Regions from separate parts of the Homo sapiens genome. Here region 2 is linked to region 1. The links are contacts of gene promoters, found by promoter capture Hi-C in human tissues and cell types (Jung and others, 2019). All regions are on one chromosome and are shown on one strand. Each heading gives the region's core, a stretch centred on a gene start or on the middle of the fragment in contact. The rest is flanking DNA. Distances are from core to core; before and after follow the strand shown.

The links. Contacts are between HindIII fragments. The study calls those that stand out against the background at their distance.
Region 2: a fragment that was not itself captured here is called in contact with the fragment with the promoter of RANBP17 in region 1 in 1 of the 25 tissues and cell types used here (mesendoderm cells).

The regions. Positions count from the first base shown.
Region 1 is chr5:170,859,827-170,865,169 of GRCh38, reverse strand. It overlaps RANBP17 (RAN binding protein 17), which reads right to left and starts at 3,152. Exons shown (of 28, transcript NM_022897.5): 1 at 3,119-3,152. The coding sequence starts at 3,136. The HindIII fragment of the contact is 7,494 bases long and covers 1-5,343 here.
Region 2 is chr5:170,730,331-170,735,938 of GRCh38, reverse strand. It overlaps KCNIP1 (potassium voltage-gated channel interacting protein 1), which reads right to left. Exons shown (of 8, transcript NM_014592.4): 6 at 3,035-3,139; 7 at 2,041-2,103; 8 at 1-180. The coding sequence ends at 133. Among named protein-coding and RNA genes, the nearest start is that of GABRP, 51 kb to the left of the region's middle. The HindIII fragment of the contact is 4,401 bases long and covers 997-5,397 here.

The sequences.
Region 1 (5,343 bases), core at 1,903-4,402:
AATCACTGGAACCCGGGAGGCAGAGGCTGCAGTTAGCCGAGATTCCACCACTGCACTCCAGCCTGGGCGAGCAAGATTCTGTCTCAAAAAACAAACGACAACAACAACAACAACAAACCTGCAAACAGCAATATCTACCTTCCAAACTAATTGTAGAATGAAGATAGAAAAGATGGGGAAAGCCTAATCCAGTGCCTGCCATACAGAAGATCCACAATAAATCATAAATAATCTCTCCAGTTACTGGTGAATATAAAAGACCATACGGATCTTCCATAGTTTCTCCCATTCAAGTCCACACTGCCAGAATGGTCATTCCCACATACCTTTTCTCATGTTATAATTGCATTTAAAAATAATAGTTCTCAATCACATCTAGATCAAATCAGGTAGCTTGACTGGAGATTAAGAAGCATGGCTATATTTCCTGCTTCTTAAACAGTCCTGAGCAAAAAAGTTGGATCAACTGAGTCCCTTAAATTTTTCCTAACATTCTCTCGATTCTTACCAAGGTACCTCTGTTCTACCTAAAGTGCCTACCTCTTACTTCTTCTCAATTCTTTTTCCTCACTCTGCCCCCTTATCTGGATTGCCTGTCAGGGAATCCAGACCCATTAATTCCTTTGGGACAGGGTATCGTAATTCACAGCTTCCTAACCAGAATGCAACTGCTTTGAATGATTCACAGGTATGCCTGAGATATTGATCCCTCTGCCCTCCAAGCATTAGGAGCAGAGCTTGAGACATTGGGGAAAGTGCACACTGATGGCCTTTGGCAATGAGCGGTTTATGTTAATGAGACACACAATTAACATTTTTTATGTATGTCATGATGTGAAAAAGATGTTGACCACTACCCTAACCTCACCCTACACAAATCTGCTTCTTTACTCATCATCTTGATGGTATAATTTTTGCCTAGCTGCCCTTTTGGGTAGGTGACAGTAAGACAGAGGTAATGGGGAACACGGAACTTATGAGTTATGAGGCCTACTCTAACTCTGTAACGTTGGGCAAGTCACAACTGTTTTAAGACTCAGTGTCTTCAGAATGAAACGTATATATGCACACTTTTTAAGTTAGTGGCAGGGCTCACCTCTATAATGAGGATATGAAAACTCAAAATGCTAGGTACTGGTTATCACTATTAACAAATGTTCCTTGAGTTAACTGATTAACAATATGATCCTATATGCTAAAAAGAATTCAAACGGAGAAATTTCAGTTTTTTTCTAGTCAACAAAACTGTCTGATCTTTTATTTGTCCAACTCCGCTTTTAAGCTGTCTACAGGAATGTACTGTGAAGTACTTATGTTGGAATGTACTGTGAAGTACATTCCTGCAAAACCAATATGGGTAGTTTTGACATCAGCAGCTAACTTTTCCAACACTGTGCCTAAATATGAAGAAGTCTTCCAGGGCTTGGTGATTTAACTGTACATCACCTTTCCATGTATGAAAAAATTCCAAAGTTCCACCATACCTTTTAATTTACTCTCAAGATTTACTCGGGCTCTGTGAACATCTGATTACCTATTTACAATCCATAAATCCTCCTTGTAAGATTCTTCCTGTGAAAATTTCCCAGAGGGCATATTTACTAAAGTGGTAATACATTATTTTGACCTGAGGACCCTTAGAAATGGCATGAAGTCAAAAGGTAATGTGTCGGGCTTACTACATAACATTCTAGAACTGTCGATTATCAGACAGTAACTGGTTTTAAAAAAAAGACCCTTTAGAAGAATCAATAAATCAGCCAAGTTATAAATCAGTGTGATCACAGGGGGTTCAAAAGAGTCTACAAGGGGAATGAGATTCTTAGATACACTGTCACCATATTATGAAATTCCCTTCCCTCCCTGGGGTCATCTCCTGCCACCCACTGCCTCCCCTGATCCCATCCCTTTGTCCCAACCAGACTCAACTTTCTGCAGTACACCATGTTCTTCCACAATTCTTTGCCTTGGCTCACACGTCCTTCTACCTCCATATCCTTCCCTTCCTCTTCACCTGGCAAACAACTACGACTCTTTCAAGGACCAGTAGACTGCAAGTTCCCTGAGAGTAGAAACCATAGTTTTGTTCAGAGCTGTTGTATCTTCAGCGCCTAGCATAGTAGGCGCTCAATAATTAATAAATGGAAGAATGGAGGCTCAAAGAATCTTAAAGCATCTCTCAGCTAAGAGCATAGCAGCTCTGCTTCACTCCTTCTCAACATACACATTTGGCTGGCTACCCCCTTTTCTGTGCTATGATACTGTGACTATTTCTACCATACATTTTTCACTTGTACTGTAATTCTCTGTTAACTGTATGAGGGCGAGGATAGTAAGATGTCATCCTTTATCCCCAGAACTTTCCACAATGCTTGAGACACAGTGGGGAGATAATAAATGTTTGCTGAATAACTGAACGGGGATGTCAGAGCAGCCCGAGGATATACAAGCACGCGTCCCATCTTCGTAGCCTCTGCGATCCTCGCGTCCGCGCCCGCGCCCGCGCCCGGCCCGGGTTTCCTCCTCCGAAGAGGCGGCCGCGTAGCCCTCCCTCGCAACTCCCCCCAGACGCAGCCCCTGTCTCCTCTGGCCAATTAAAGTCCAACCGCTGCCGCCGCTCCTTCGGTGGATCCCAAGCCCCCGCTCCGGCTGGGGCTCAACTGTGTGGAGGGAGGCTGACGATAGAGCCGCGCCGGCGACGCGGCGGGAAGGCGGGAAGGCTGCTCCACCGCTCGGCAGCCGCGCGAGGCGCGCCAAAGCCGGCCCAGCTGGGACTCCCACCTGCCCTGGCAACACTAAAGCCGCGGTCAGCGAGCGTGCTGCCGGCGTCCGCACCTTCCCCGGGACGAGCCCTGGGCCTGTCCCCCGCCCCCTCCACCCGCCGCCTCCAACCCAGGCTCGGCCGCCCCTTTCTCGGGCTCCGGCCCGGGCCTGGGGTGTGCAGCCCAGACCAGTGTCCCGGTCCCCGGCTAGGGGCAGAGGCAGGGGCTGGGACTCCGGGGACACCGGCCCACGGCCCTGCGGCCTCCGCCGCTGTCCTCGGCCCTCGGTCTCCAGACGCGTCCCGCCGGGTTCCCAGCGTGGCGGAGCGCGGGCCCGCGGCGCAGAGCACACTGACCTGGAAGTGCAGCGCCATCTTCCCAGGAGGCGGCGCCGGCCAGCCGGCCGGTCGGCACCCAGCGCCCGAGGGGAGGGAGCAGAGGCGGGCGCCGCGGAAGCCCCAGACGCCCGCGGGGTCCCTGCGCCGCTCGTCCTTCGCAGCCTCAGCCAGGCTTCGCGTCCGCATTCGAAGCGCTGGAGGGGCGGGGCTGGGAGGGACGGGGCGGGGCTGGGAGGGACGGGGCGGGGCGACGGAGGCGGTGCACGGGGCGGGGCCGATAGGGGCGTGTCCTCCGGGAATCTCAACCGTCCCTTGCGCTCAAGTTTCAACCGGCGTGTGTTGGTGGGTCATGACCTCCAACCTCTGCCCTTTGACACAACTACCACGACCCACCCGTCAGCCGTGGACCCTGACTCATAAGTCTTCCAAAGGCTCTCTTGACCCCTGACCCTCAAAATACAACTATCGCCCATGGCTCCCGACACCTGCATCTCCACAGATTTTCTTGTCTCCTAACAGCCAGGAACCACAGACACACACAGCCATAACCTTTGACTCCCACATGCCAGCTGTTGCCCTTGACCCCTGACTCCCAGGGCCCAAATTCCATTGTTGCTTAACAATGTTTTTAACTTGATTTTGGTTAAAATTAAACCGCCCATGTCTACATGCTGTTAAGTTGTAAAATTCAAGCTTTACCTCATTCTTTGTCTGCATTTTGTTTAATATGAACTTATATTTTACAACAAATGATTCCACTGCAATGAGAATTTATTGGAGCAGAATTGGGTCAAAGTTGCTGCTTTCTGATGTTCTCCGTTTTTTCTTCAAGTTCAGCATTTCCATTTGGGAGCACTGTGCTGTAGTATTTAAGAGGGAAACTCCCTTAAGCACTTCTTGTATTCAGGTCTGCTAACAACAAAGTCTCTCAGCTTTTGTTAACATAAAATCATCTTAATTCACCTTCATTTTTTAAAGGATAGTTTTGCTGGGTATAGAATTTCACATTGGCTTTTTTTTTAATCTTTCAGCATTTTAAAAATGTCTTCTCATTGTCTTCTGCTTGTCATTGTTTCTATTGAGAAATCAGCCATCAGTCTAATTGTTGCTCCTGTCTTTTGGCCCCCTCCTCAGGTACTTGAACATTTTTCTCTTTTTTTATTTTTTCTTTTTGTCTTCAGCACTTTGTGCTTGATGTCGCTAAGTGTGTGTGTGTGTGTGTGTTGTATTTATCCTGCTTGGGATTCATAAAGCTCTTTAAGTGTGAATGTAATCTTTTTTATCAAGTTTTGAAAAATCTTGGTCACTAGTTCTTTAAATATTGCATCTGTCCCCTTCTCTCTCTCTACCTCTCCATTCTGGAACTCCAGTTACATGTATGTTATAAGTTTTTGCTATATTCCTTATTTCTATTCTGTATTTTTTATTTGCCTGCTGTCCATTCCATAGAAACTCTGTTCTGCTGTGTCTGAGCTGCTATACATCCCCTCTATTGAATTCTTAGTTTTAGTTATAATATTTTCAGTTCTAGAATTTTCATTTAGAAAGTTGAAATTTTCATGGTTCCTCCTCCTCTCCCATTTTAAAAATAGATTCCAAGGCTTTGATGAAATTCTTTGTCTTTATTTTCTTAAACATTTTAACTGTATTATTTAAAGCCCTTATCTGTTAACTCCAATTTCTGAATCATCTGAGTCTTCCTGGGTTTTTGGTGCTTGGCCCTTGGCCCTTTTTTTTCTTTCTTTTTTTTTTTTTTTTTTTTTTTTTTTTTTTTACATATCTCATGATTTCTTGTTGAATTCAAACCATGTAGAAGAAAATTTGTAGAGGCTCTGGATGATAACAGGTTTCTCCAAGGAGGGCTAAGTTTTCTTGTGGTAGGCAGACAAGAGTACTAGTGGATCATTGAGTCTTTTTAATTCTGGTTAACTTCAGTTATGACCTTACTCCTAGGCCATGGTCCTTACTAGGTCTTACAACTAAAAGCCTAGAATGTGGCTGGGCATGATGGCTCATGACTATAATCCCAGCACGTTGGAAAGCCAGAGAGGGTGGATCGCTTGAATCCAGGAGTTTGAGACCAGCCTGGGCAACATGGTGAAAGCCCATCTCTACAAGAAATACAAAAAATTAGCTTGGTGTAGTAGCATGTGCCTGTAGTTCCAGCTACTCGGGAGGCTGAGGTGGGAAGACCCCTTGGGCCCAGAAGCTATAGGCTGCAGTGGGCCGTGATTGCACCACTG
Region 2 (5,608 bases), core at 1,948-4,447, 130 kb after region 1:
AATTCTTCCAAAGTGTAAAAGGTGTTTCTGTCCCAAGAGTTGGTGTGTAAAATCAGAACAAGGGCAGATCAGGGTGTTAAGGTGGTTGTTTAGTACAATGTCTCTGAGAGCTGAATGGCTGAGTGTCACCAGTTACATGACATTTTGAAACAGCTGGAGAGACCTCATGATGTTGTCGTCCTGGGAAAAAAGGAGGGCAAGAGGGTTAGAACTCTGAGTCTCCTCCCTGAGAGCTCTGTAACTCTGGTGAGCAAATGTCAAGCATGGGTTTCCTATATGGAGAAAACTCTACAAGGGTATGAAAAACAAGAAGTAAGGGTGGGGACCTAGAAAGTGATCAGTTCAAAGTAAGAAGCACCACCTGTAGCCTTAAAGAGGAATTCAGAAGAAACAAATCATCTAGTAAAATAGTGAGTTGCTTCTTTTAAGAAGCTCTGAACAATTACATCCACTGAAATGATTATATTTTTTCTCTTTTTATTCTATTAATGTGATTAATTACACTGACCAATTATTGAATGTTAAACCAACCTTGCATTCCTGGAATACTGCTTTAGATCCTACAAATTTTGATAAGTCATATTTTTATTTTATTTTTATTCGAGATATTTTCTTCTCTGAACCATGAATTAGAAGTGTATTGCTTAATACCGAACATTTGAGGATTTTTCTACATTCAATACTATACCTCAGAGAAGAAATAATAGAAAAATGTAAAATACAGAACATGCAATAGAGACATACAGTAAGAAAACCCCCCAAAGCGCTCTCTTTCAAAAAAATCAATAAAGTAGATAAATGCTTATTAAGACTGCTTTTCAAATTATCAATATCAGAAATGAAAAGGTTAATGTCAGTATAGGCTTATTTGGCTCATTATTCTGGCAGCTGGAAAGTTCAGCTGGGCATCTGCATCTGGTGAGGGTTTCAGGCTGCTTCCACTCACAGTGGAATGTGAAGGGAAGCTGGGTGTGCAGAGATCCCATGGTGGGAGAGGAATCAAGGTTGGAGGTGGGGAAGGTGCCAGGCTGTTTTACAACCAGCTCTCAAGGGAATTAACAGTGAGAACTCACCCCCAAGGGGGTCAGTGTTCATTCCATTCTAGTTGTTAAATATCTTGGATATCACCCTGCACATAGGACATCTACATAACAGGGTGGCTGTGATGTTTATGTATGTGCTTGAAACTTGATGGGGGCTCAGTATCTGCTAGGAACTTCTCCCCGGCTTTCTTACATTTGCTATTCTTCTTGGCTGGAGCTCAGAGTAACTCTGAACATTTCTAAAATAATGTGGGGGTACAAATGGATTTCTCAAAAGTAGATGAAGCAATTATTTCCAGTTCAGTCTCTGGTGGACTCTGGGGCTGGTCTATTGGTTAGACTTAATGAAAGTTGTGTTCCCAGGATCAGCATCACCAGTGTGACTGGGGAGAATGTGAGAAAAGTAACATCTCAGGCCCTACCCCAGACCTATGGAATTAGAATCTGCATTTTAACAAAATCATCAAGGATATTGTTTCACACATTAAAGTGTTAGAAGCATTGGTCCAGGACATTTGTGTTAAAGTGACCCAGATCTAGAGTCTCTGGGATTGAGGCCTGGAAATATGCATTTTCAGAATCATTCCAGGCAATTTTTATGCACACTGTGGTTTGAGAATCACACAATTGTAGGTTTTTTTCCCCCCAGCTGCTTCCTTGTAGTCTGGGAAATGGGTCATCAAGCCAGAGGCAGGCTAAAAAATAATGGTGTTGCCCTCTCGGGAAGTCTATTTTCACAGAGACCCCCTCTGAGTTTTCACATGCCCCCAGACCCCTACTTAGGCTCTCTGTTCAGTCTTGTGCTTAGCCAAGACCAACTGCAGGTCAGGTTGAGGAGTGGAACTGTGGACTTCACAGTTGTTGCTGGTGTTGTTGGCTCTGATGGGAGGGGTTGCAGGTATGTGCAGGTTTCTCATCACCTTCCTTCTGCAGGTCCCCAGGCCCCAGGTTTCCTTTCCCAGATGTAGAGTTATTGTGCCCTGAGATCTCTCCTTACCTCCTGACATGATTCAAGAAATTCATCTAAAGTTACGATGCCATCTTTATTTTTGTCCATTTTCTGAAAGACATAACAGAAAGCACTTTACAGAATCTGGTGATCTCCATTCCAAAGCTTACTCCCCTGCTTTCTTGCTGGAGCTCAGAGTAACGAGCTGGAGCTCATTTCATTCATTTCATTAACCAACTTTGCCCTGAGAATGAGAGTTGTCTTTCACTGGCCAGACAACTCCAATTAGGTCCTGATTACAACACTTTGAGCCCCATGAGCTTCCTTAAATCAAAAGACTTGCTCTGGACACTCATCACCTCACTGCTGGCTTATTCTGCTTCTTCTGTAGACTCCCTGCTACCCTGTCCATCTGGCAGAACACTGGGCAAAAGAGGTTCTGATTCTGGCCTGTTACTTGCTGTACAAACTTGCACAAGGCCAGAGAGGACTCTCTTTTCCCATCTGCAAAGTGGGAGGTTGAACTAGAGTGAACTCTTGATATTCTCTGATACTCCACCGCTAGATTAATTTTTTCCTAAAATGCCCCAATGATTATACCACTCCCTTAGTCAAGGATCAGCACTAGCTGCCCATCCTGTACCAGAGCAAGGCCAAACTCTTCCATTTAAAGGTCTCATAATCTGGCCCTATCCTAGTTTCCAATCTTATTTCCCCTTACTTCCCAGACACAAATGCTTAACACCTCCACAGTTGTAATTAATGAAGTCTTTCGTGTTTACCCTGATCCCCAAATTTTTATGGATTTAGAGTTCATACTATACCACTAGCGTTTAATAATATACTTTCTTGTTCTCTTCTGTCATGTACACTTGCAGCTTAAGGAGATCATCTGTTTCTTGAGGACAATGTATCTTATAATTCTTTTCTGTTACCAACCATGCTTAGTACAGGGTTGGACACAAATCATTTGCTCAGATGCTCGTGGGTTGACTTGATCTAGGCTGGGCTTACAGCTCATGTGCAGGGTGTGTGCACTTACCTGGAAGAAGACGTCCACATGCTGCCTTGGAGTGTCCTCTTTGAGCACAGGATATGTGTATTTCCCCATCATGTCATAGATGGCTTTGACAATGTCCATCATCTCCTGGAGCAGGGACATAAAAGCACACAGTGTGGAAACCATGAGGTCAAGCTCTTCCTAGGTGACAGAGTTTGGGGCTCCTTGTGCCCCTTGGCAATGAAAGTGATTAAAAGGTGAGGTCCTTCTTTAGCAGGTGATAGGGAGTTAGAAGCAAGCAGAAGGGGATATATTGTGGGAGCCCTTCTTAGAGAGGAGATGGTAGACAATTCCTAAATCCCTCAGAAGCTCATGGGTAGGTTACCTTGTTATGGGCATTGTCTTCAGTGGGGGGTGATTTGTGGGATCCCCATTCACAGGCTTGAGGCAAATAAAATACTATTCTGAATTTTTAAAAAGTTAATGTTCTAGCCTAGAGATTTAAAAATCCCCATAGTTTCTGCCACTGTTTTCAGTTAAGAAAAATGAACCAACAGCCAAGATTATCCACAGGGCACATGAGGCCAATAGTTCCACAGACTGAGGCCCTTATTAAAAAGATCAGTTCTCAAGTCCACTCCAAACCTATTGAATCAGAGAACCTTAGGACTCGGTCCTGAGAGTTTCCGTGTTTATCAAGGTACATTGGGAACCATTATTCTGACCATTCTGGCCCAACTCAGAATGGGGGTAAAAGAGCATTTGGGATGTTTGACCTGGTTTCTACAGAGACCCAGGGGACAGTCTCATTCCATGTGCTTATTTTATTTTATTTTTTGTTTAATTTTTGCATATTATGAATAATTTTAGACTTACAGAAAATTTACAAAATTAGTACAGAGAGTTCATGCATACCTTTCACTCAGTCTCCTCTAATGTTAACAACTTGCATAACCAGAGCACAATGACCAAACCCAGGAAATTAACATGGCTTCACTATTATTAACTAAACTACAGGGCTTATTCAAATTTTATCAGCTTTTCTTTTTTTTTTTTTTTTTTTTTTTTTTTTTTGAGACGGAGTCTCGCTCTGTGGCCCAGGCTGGAGTGCAGTGGCGGGATCTCAGCTTTTCAACTAATATTTTTTTCCCTTCAATGATTCTACATTGCATTTATTTGTTGTGTCTCCTTAGTCTCTTCTAATCTGTATGAGTTTCTCATTCTTTTTTTCTTTTTTCTTTTTTTTTTTTTTTGAGACAGGTTCTTGCTCTGTCACCCAGGCTGGAGTGCAGTGGCACAATCCCCGTCACTGCAGCCTCGACCTCCCGGGTTCAAGTGATCCTCCCGCCTCAGCCTCTCAAGTAGCTGGGACTACAGGCAAGTGCCACCACACCTGGCTAATTTTTTGTAGAGATGGGGTTTTGCCATGTTGCCCAGGCTGGTCTCAAACTCTTGGACTCAAGTGATCTTCCTGCCTCTGCCTCCCAAAGTGCTGGGATTATAGGCATGAGCCACCATGCCCAGCCTGAGTTTCTTTGTTTCCTTGTCTTTCAGGACCTCACACTTTTGATATGAGTACAGGTCAGTTGTTTTGTAGAATGTCTCTCAATTTGAGTTAATCCCTGGTTTAGTTATGATTAGATTGAAGTTATGCATTTCTGGCAAGAATACCACAGAAGTGATGGTATAACCTTCTCAGTGCGTCATATCAGGGAGTTACATAGTGTTGAGATGTCTTATTACTGATAATGTTAACCTTGATCACTTGATTAAGGTGGTGTCTGTCAAGTTTCCTTACTGATTTAGTATCTTTCAGTGGATCTTGCCTGCAAAAATTATTACTGTAGTGTTTGCCTGATGGTAATTTTGTATTTCCTTTATTCCTTCTATACTTATTAATTACAATTCTTCTGTAAGGAAGAGCTACCTTCTCTCCTGCATTTATTTATGTATTCAGTTGTTTATTTACATTAGCATGGACTTGTGGGCATTTACCATATTTTACAGGTTATAATCCAGTACTTAATAATTTTTAATTTTGCTCAAATTGCTTTCATTCTGACTATTGGGAACTCCTTCAGGTTGACTCCTGCAGTTTTTTTTTTTTAAGCACTTTTATACCTTCAGCATAATAAAGTACTCCAGGCTCATCTTGTATTTTCTCTTTCCCAATCTTAGAATCAACTATTCTTCAAGAAGACTGGTTCTGTTTATCGAAGAATGGTATTTAGAAATCAAAGTCTAGGTACTAGTATGCTCACTGCTACAGGGATGTCATTGCTCTGAGGTGCCCTCAACAGATAGAACGAGGAAATAGATGTCTCTATCCATGTGTTTATTTTTAAATGTGTGCTTTACAAGCCCTTCACATCTACATGGCCATTGATGCTTTTCCTGTCTGATATTTTTTTTTAATCACAGAAAGAGCAATTTTGTTGCTCTCTCAGGATTTTCATAGCCTACAACTTGGATGAGGTTATCTCCAAATGATTGCCAGGGGAAGATCCTGCTATCTTTTCTGAGAAGCTACTTATCCACACTTTCTTTTTCTTTTAAGGGGTACTTTATTAACTCTGCCCTCCAGAGAGGTCTGATAGATTAATGGGGAGAATTCTG